Linked DNA regions of Homo sapiens: all the other regions are linked to region 3. The links are contacts of gene promoters, found by promoter capture Hi-C in blood cells and fetal thymus (Javierre and others, 2016). All regions are on one chromosome and are shown on one strand. Each heading gives the region's core, a stretch centred on a gene start or on the middle of the fragment in contact. The rest is flanking DNA. Distances are from core to core; before and after follow the strand shown. Region 1 overlaps ANAPC13 (anaphase promoting complex subunit 13). Region 2 overlaps ARMC8 (armadillo repeat containing 8). Region 3 holds the start of PCCB (propionyl-CoA carboxylase subunit beta).

Evidence for each region. The method cuts DNA at HindIII sites, captures the fragments that hold promoters and counts their contacts. A CHiCAGO score of 5 or more calls a contact.
Region 1: a fragment that was not itself captured here is called in contact with the fragment with the promoter of PCCB in region 3 in 2 of 17 cell types (total B cells and non-activated CD4 T cells); the score reaches 5.8 in total B cells.
Region 2: a fragment that was not itself captured here is called in contact with the fragment with the promoter of PCCB in region 3 in 1 of 17 cell types (activated CD4 T cells); the score reaches 5.3 in activated CD4 T cells.

What each region holds. Positions count from the first base shown.
Region 1 is chr3:134,480,891-134,483,590 of GRCh38, forward strand. ANAPC13 (anaphase promoting complex subunit 13) reads right to left here. Exons shown (of 3, transcript NM_015391.4): 2 at 1,916-2,041. The coding sequence starts at 2,014. Among named protein-coding and RNA genes, the nearest start is that of ANAPC13, 3.7 kb to the right of the region's middle. The HindIII fragment of the contact is 703 bases long and covers 1,079-1,781 here.
Region 2 is chr3:138,221,629-138,224,343 of GRCh38, forward strand. It overlaps ARMC8 (armadillo repeat containing 8), which reads left to right. Exons shown (of 22, transcript NM_001363941.2): 3 at 298-369; 4 at 1,761-1,903; 5 at 2,008-2,105. Among named protein-coding and RNA genes, the nearest start is that of ARMC8, 36 kb to the left of the region's middle. The HindIII fragment of the contact is 1,165 bases long and covers 874-2,038 here.
Region 3 is chr3:136,249,057-136,251,863 of GRCh38, forward strand. It overlaps PCCB (propionyl-CoA carboxylase subunit beta), which reads left to right and starts at 1,284. Exons shown (of 15, transcript NM_000532.5): 1 at 1,284-1,502. The coding sequence starts at 1,320. RefSeq lists enhancers at 923-1,789, 1,019-1,078, 1,709-1,758. The HindIII fragment of the contact is 10,493 bases long and covers 1-1,767 here.

The DNA.
Region 1 (2,700 bases), core at 180-2,679, 1.8 Mb before region 3:
GCAGCAAAACCTAACTGGCATACACATTGCCTTAGAATCGCAAGACAAGCGAAAGGTGTGGATTAGCAGCAGGGCCAAGCCAACTTCGCCTGGAAGTCAGCAGGGAAACCTCCTTCCACCCCTGCCACCCAAATGTTCTCCAATCTGAGCCATAAACTTCTCCAGAAATGGACGTCTCCTTTATTTTCTTGACTTTGTTTAGGCCCTCCTCCCTTGCCTAGACCACAACAGCTTGCCAATTGGTCTCACTTGCCCCTATCTCCATGTCACACCATCTCTAACAATGCTGGCTAAACTGATTTTCCAAAAGCCAAATCTGAGCATAGCAGTCTTGCTTTTAAGACCATTCATTCCTGGATCTCCTGAGGATGAGGTCTAAGTGTGATATCAAATACCACTCTCAATCTGATCCAAGCCCAACTTTTCAGCCTACTTATGTGACAAATGTATTCTTCATCCACAGTGAATGACTCACCATGTCCCAAAGCCTTTCAAAACTCTGGGCCTTTACACATCTGTCCCCTCTGCTGCAATACCCTTGTCTACCTCCACTAAACTTCTGGTCCTTCCTTATGACCCAGCTTAAACATGACATTCTCTCAGAAGCCTTTCTGATGCCCACCAGGCAATCAGCCACTTCGTATATGATGTGGCTGTTTATGCCCCCACCTAGAATATTTATTATCACAATTACTTATCTATAAGTGTTGCCTTTCTAGACCCCTCAGGAGGAGGAACTGTATCTTATGTTCACATAGTCTTATGGCACACAGTAGGCTTCAAAAAATGCTTGTCAAATGAATGAATGAACAGAAGTTCACAAGACAGGATTTGGAACTTCACAGACCTAGGTATATGTTATATGAAGCCCTACTTACCTGCTACCAGACTTTGGGCAAGTTGCCCTTTCTGATCCTATTCTTTTCCTATAAAATGGGAATAACAGCACCTCCCTCACAGGGTTGTTTAAGAATTAGAGATAATGTATATTTCCAACCTCAGTCCATGGCATAAAACTGGTATTCAATAAATGACATCTATAATTCTTATTATGCTCTCTCTTTTGACTATTTTCCTAAGCTTGAACTAAGCTATGACTTATTTGATATGTATATTATTCATTGAACATATTACTATCTCTTATTCGTAAATGAAAATACAGATGAACTATTTTATTTCTTTGCAAACAGCAACAGCAGATATTCTAACTATAAATTATATTTTATTCAATACTAACTACTCTTCTCAGGGCAGCTGGCATGCTTTAAAGAAAAACAGTCCTGTTTTCCCTTTTTTAGGCCTCTATGACATAAATAGGATTTTAAACAAACATTTATATAAGCAAAACTTTTGGATCACTTATTACATGAGGTTTAACAAACTCCCTGCAGCAGAGTTTTCCAAAGATGGGGAAGAAAAGAGTATTCCAGAAGGCCACTGGCCTAAACGCAAAAGAATACCCAGGTATCTTCTGAATATTTTCCAGGGAACCTAAGATAGGTGTATGCTCCAAGAATGTAAGTTTCTAAAAATGCTGAAAGACTGATGAGCCACAGGCAGGGAAGTAAGAAACAGAGCTCATATGCTGCTGCTTCTTGTTCTTCCCCATCTTGCGCATTAAACTCTCATTATTTGGTTTCTCTGGTTTTCGTGTGGTGGACAGAACATGGCTCAGAAAATCGGGGCTCTAGTCCTGGCATGACTCCTAACTGACCTGGCCATGTTAGCTCCCTGAACCACATTTTTCTTCAAATAAAACATACAACTGGATGCTCTCCAGAAGCTTCTAGAGTTAGAGAATTCCACAGCTTTGATTTCTTTGCCACACTAGTTTATCTTCCATTGATATCCCTCCTCCACTAGTTACTGCCAGATCAATACCTTTAACCCATCCTCAGCTCAAATCATAACCTACCAGTGGTATTGCGACATCCTCATAAGGCAGCTTGTCTTCTCGCCAAGCATCATCAATCAAATCCAAGATCCTTCCATCTCTCTGAACCTCACTGTCCATTTTCCTGCAGCTTTGATCTTGTCAAATCTGTAAGCCAAAGAGGTTATTTCTTAAACACGAAGACTGAAGAGATGGTATAATCCACTATTAGGATTCTCCAGGCTTTTTAGTCTGGGGCCACCTTTTGGGAAAAGGTTCATTTTCTCATATGGGCCGGGTGACTACTTTGATCACAGTTCCTCTCTCCAACCCCAACTGATACATATTTTATAGTGTATACTGGACAGGCATAGCCCAGCTGACAGACCAGTGTCATAGAGTGTGACAGGAGAGCAACACGTTAAACGAGGCCCTCAAATATTAATATGTTGCATCTCAATGTAGCTCTTCTCTTCTAACTTGAACATTCACCTTTTCCTGTTTGTGATGCCTTTGATGAGTCCCTGATTCATAATGGCCAGCTAAGTTTCCTTTCTAGCCCCTGGCTCAAACCTCAGCATTCTTAGGCACAGGAGTCACACGAACATACTGTAAAGGAAACGGCTTCCTTCCCTAAAATAGTACCCAGGCTGAGATCTGAATAAAGCACTTCTAGGTGAACACCAGTGGTAGAACCTCATACTGCTAAAGTTTCTCCAGTTTCTGCTTCCCTTTGGGGTAGCTCCTTCCTCGGAGGTTCCTTCCTCTAATTCTTAACGCTACACTCCCTTCAATTTCTGGCCCAAATGGTCACGATGCTTATTTAG
Region 2 (2,715 bases), core at 206-2,705, 2.0 Mb after region 3:
GGCCTGTATTCCTTTGTATCCAAAGTATTGGTAGGTACCCTTTCTAGAAGAACTCAATTCTGTACTGGAAGTCTTTCGCCAGTACTCAGGATATCTCTCACTTTCTACAATACGCCGTTTTACAGCCCCCACATTCACTCTGCACCTATCTCTATCCCTTCATTAGTACTTTAGGTGAAAAAAGGTTAGTGCTTTTACTTTGTCAAATCTAAGATATTGCATAATGAAGTAGAATGATCTTTGATTTTTCTTCAGTGCTGTCTCAACATACTTTATTTTTTCTTCCCCTTAATTCAGAGACATGAAAAATGCTGTAATTGGAAACAACAAGCAGAAAGCCAATCTCATTGTTTTAGGAGCTGTTCCAAGGTATGTTTGCTGTCTCACCCCTTTCTTGCCATTCATACTAGTTTCTAATGTATTTCTTACTCTCAATTATAGAACCCATTTTTCCTGTATTGTCTGTCTAATTCTTAAAATAAATCCTATTTTTAAAAATAAATGTAAGTATTTAAACTATCTTTAAGGAAAAAAATTATAAAGTAACAGAGAATGTAGTAAGAAGTGAATGTGTTAATACATTTTGGAAACTCAGGAAGACCTTTGACCTGATGACAAAAGGGTTCGTAAAGTACATATGCAATGTACAACAGCCTGATACTTTCTTCTCCATTTCCTTAGAGCCTTGGCAGTTTTTTGTGTGAGTGGGTAATTTATTAGGAGCCTTAAGACCTTTTTGAATTTAAAGGAAAAAAACCCTGCTTGATTTTTAATCCAGTTTCATTTTTTAACTTCTGATTTTTACAACTTGCTGTTTTTTAAGTTAACGTAAGAAGTTTAGGAAGTTTAATTTCTTCTTTTGATGACCTAATAAGCTTCCTTTAGGCAGGCAATGACAGTTACATAACTTCCTCTTTACTTTTGCTCCTCAGAGCTAAGTTTTCTGTGCAATTGCTATTAGCTTTTCATTCAGAATTATTTATTATTTTGTTTTTTTCTCCTTATTTTCTGGTTTTGATACAGAATTAATGGTTTAAGTGTTTTAACTCACCAACCTCAAACATATACTTTAGTAACTATAAAGCTGTCAGCAGCCTTTCTTAGGGGATTTATGTTTGGTATATATAAATAGTGCTTTATGGAGCATGAGGGTCCTGTCTTAGAACATAAGGTAGATGGTTATAAGTGGAGGAAGGTTAGGGTTTGGGGAGTATTTGTTTGGCAAGCTGGGCTGGAGTGGAAATGAGAGGATCTCTTCCTTTTCCAAATGAGAGAGCTGGAGAAAGAAGAAACTACCTTTGCTTGAGGAGCTGCACAAGGGCTCTGAATATTCCCTATAGGCTCGATATCTACAAACTGCACCACTGCTCTGGATTCAGAGCAGTAGCATTTCTAGTTTGAGTTTAAGATCTGGCAGCACATGGCATTTGAGAGTCTTCATATTTTGGAGACCCAGCAGGAAGTGGTAGATGACATGGACTCTGATGACGCTGTTTCTACAGAGACTATCTGTGGACAACTTTCAGATTTACACTTTTTATAAACTCTAAGAATATGATAGTTCTTTTTTTCAAAACCTCTTCTAGATTTTTTTTCCAGATGTTTCTTTAATTAGCAGATGAGATAAACAAATGACCATTGGATTCATATAAACTCAGCCAACCATATTTTTAGTATGTGGACTGCACAGCCTTTTTTGGTCACATTGAGTCTTGTTTAAATTTTTTAGTCTCTTCGTTTATTAAGTTCCTTCTTTTTAGATTGTTGTACTTGCTTCAGCAAGAAACCTCAAGCACAGAGCTGAAAACTGAATGTGCAGTGGTGTTGGGAAGTCTTGCTATGGGTACTGAAAACAATGTCAAGTCTCTACTGGACTGCCATATTATCCCTGCCTTATTGCAAGGTATGTAGGGAAGCCATTTTTGCTCAATTAAGGTTAAGAATCAGTTTGCAGTGCTTTAAATACTGGTTGAAAGGATTAGTCCTAAATCTCATTTCTGTTAATAGGACTACTGTCCCCAGACCTGAAGTTTATTGAAGCTTGCCTCCGATGCCTGCGTACCATCTTCACCAGTCCTGTCACTCCAGAGGAGCTACTGTATACAGTGAGTTTTAGATGTATTTGAGACATTAGTTACATTTCACCAACAGCCTACTCCTAATTTGCTTAGCATCTTCAGACTCATCATAACTGTGTTATGTAAAAAAGTCTCAGTTGGTCATGGTGGCTCACACCAGTAATCCCAGTGCTTTGGGAGGCTGAGGTGGGAGGATTGCTTGAGGCCAGGAGTTCAAGATCAACCAGAGTGACATAACAAGACTCCATCTCTTTTTTTTTTTTTTTTTTTGAGGTGGAGTCTTGCTCTGTCACCCAGGCTAGAGTGCAGTGGCGCGATCTCGGCTCACTGCAACCTTCACCCTGCCAGGTTTAAGCATTTCTCTGCCTCAGCGTCTGGAGTAGCTTGGATTACAGGCGCGTGCCACCACACCCGGCTAATTTTTTGTATTTTTAGGAGAGATAGGGTTTCACCATCTTGGCCAGGCTGGTCTTGAACTCCTGACCTTGTGATCCACCCGCCTCGGCCTCCCAAAGTGCTGGGATTACAGGTGTGAGCCACTGCGCCCGACAACAAGACTCCATCTCTACAAGAAAAAAATAAAAATAAATTAGCCTGGTGCAATGGCTCATGCCTATAGTCCTAGCTCATGAGACTG
Region 3 (2,807 bases), core at 34-2,533:
GCTTGCATTTCCAACTCACTCCCAGGTGATACTGAAGTTGCTGGATTGACAAGATTCCCTCCTTGATCAAACATTGGTCAGGCTCTTCTGAGCTCTCTCTTTGACTAGGCCTGAGTGTGGGCTCCCATGTCATTCCTTGTGGAATTCCATTTTAGCAAGAAACTTGCCAAGTCAGTTTAGCCAGAATCCTCCATTCTTGATATCTGATTACTCTCCATATCTGGTTTTGACCCATACCGCCACCATCCCCCAGGTGATGTTCAGTTACCCTGACCTGCCTTGGGCAGGAATCCTGTTAGGTCAATTTAGCCAGATTCCCCGCCAATGTTTCCTCTTAGTAATTTTCCATCCACTGACTTCCACACACTGCCCCTTAGCTATAAATTACCACTTTGCTATATTCAGCCCAATCGCTCTGACTTATGGCAAAACTCTATCCCTACCTCTGTCAGATTGGGCCTGAATAAAGTTTGCCTTACCATTCTTAAACATGAATAATTAAGTGTCATGAATAGTTTTTTCTTTAATGGGATCCATACTTTGAGAACTACTGATTAGAGGTTAAGGGTCCTGTGCTCATTATCTGGCACATATTAATGATAGGTCTCTGAGTTTGAATCCTGGCCAACCACATTGTCAGTCTTGGCTTTTTTTTTTTTTTTTTTTTGAGACAGGGTTTTGCCCAGGCTGGAGTGCAGTGATGCAATCACGGCTCACTGCAGCCTCGACTTCCTGGGCCAAGCCATCCTGCCGCCTTAGCCTCCCGAGTAGCTGGGGTCACAGGTGCAAGCCGCCATGCCCAGCTAATTTTTAATTTTTTTGTAGAGGTGGGGTCTTACTATATTGCTCAGGCTGGTCTTGGGCTCCTGGGCTCACCTACCTCGGCCTCAGTCTTGCCTCTTGATCAAATCACTCATCTCTCTGTGCTTGATTTACCTCATCTGTGAAATCCAGATAGTAAGCTAGTGCATGGTAAGTGCAAAAAGCAACACCTGGCACAATGCTTAATAAATGTTGGTTAAATCTTATAATCATTTTCTGTAGGAAGTGGGACGACAAAGTTAAGGGTCTAGGTGGTCAGAGAAGAGCAAGGACTATGTCCCTTTTTTGTGCAGCCAGGCAGGCCCTGTACTTTTTCTCTGCGCGACCCTCCTCGGGCAGCACCGGGTCTCGAACTCTCACGCCTTACTCCCAAGCAGGTTCTGTAGTCCAGCCCCCGCGGCTCCCTACAGCCAGCCGATGCTGCGCAAGCGCCGTACCCACGCTTTAGCACATGCGTACTCAGGTGCGCCGGTAGGGGACGCGCCGGCACAGCAAAAATGGCGGCGGCATTACGGGTGGCGGCGGTCGGGGCAAGGCTCAGCGTTCTGGCGAGCGGTCTCCGCGCCGCGGTCCGCAGCCTTTGCAGCCAGGCCACCTCTGTTAACGAACGCATCGAAAACAAGCGCCGGACCGCGCTGCTGGGAGGGGGCCAACGCCGTATTGACGCGCAGCACAAGCGAGTGAGTCCTGAGGGGCCTAAGTGAGTCCCGCCCCTGGCGTCCGCGACCTATCACTGCGTGCCCGGCTTGCGGCGTCCGAGGCCTCCCTGCCAATCCGCACGGTGCCTGGAGGGGCCGGAGCAAGGGTGTTCACCTTGAAAACCTGTAGCGTTTCTCGTGGAGGCGGGTATAACCAGCAGAAGCACCTGTGTGCTTTTTCATACTGTTTAACCCTTGGGATTTAGACGGATCTGGCTCGTCTCTAGCCAGCTCAACACTTAACATAAGCTTTTGGGCAACTTATTAAATCTCTGTGGGTCATTTTAATAATAATTCTTCCTTCACAAGTGTATCGTTAGACCATAGATAGCAAAATGATAGGCGCTCAGTAAAAACCATGTGCTTATTCTCGTGCCCCATGAAAGAGTGATGGTAGGTTCTTTCTCCTTTGTGGAAGCAGGAAAACTGAACTTGGGCATACTCCACTAACATGAAATGGGGGATGTGCGCGTGCAGGAACTTGTGGAACTTCTGCCCGCAGAATGCCTGGTCGAGCTCTTTAGGGCCTTAGCATGCCTCGCCTTGATGGGTAGCAAAGGCACGTGTCGGAAGCAGGTGGCCTTTCTGGGAGTGCGCAGGCTACTCTCGATGTTTGGCTGGACTGAGCAGTTGAAACACTGCCACCCACCGCCTGGGTTTTGAGGCGAGAATCCAGCTGGCCTTCAGAGATAAGCTGGGCGGCCCATTTTGGAGAGGTGATCCCTGACTTGAAACCAGGCTTGCCCAGTGTGTCCGTGACTGGTGGGTGAGTCTGGACCGTTGTGCTGAACGAATTAACCAACGGGAAGGTGCAGAAGTGAAACTCTTACAGATGAAGAGTATTCAGGCACAACTCACAACCATGAGGGAGGCACTGGGGGAGGGATGGGGTCTTAAAGTGAGGAGATTTGAACAGCTCTATATTTGTCTAATATTGATTCAGATGTCATAAATTCGCATTTGACAAGGGTCCAAAGGTAACAGTTCCTTTTGACACTTGAGAGTGAAATGTAAATTTAGTGATGGTTTGTGGTGCTAGGAGTGCTTTCTCTCCCCTGGGGCTACTTCTAACCTACTCTGTTAGGGCTGAGGGAGATGTTAGATCATCCTCTGGAAAGGCCTGTCAGTGCTCCTGTACACTCTTTCTGTTGGGGCCTATTGCTCAATTCTTCCCTGGAACATCGCCTAGCCCTTTCCCAGGTAGATCCTACTAGGTTTAGATGAAGCCTCCAGAAGCTGTTTTTCTTTTGCCAAAGTTAACTTAGGAGGCTGATTTAATATGAACCC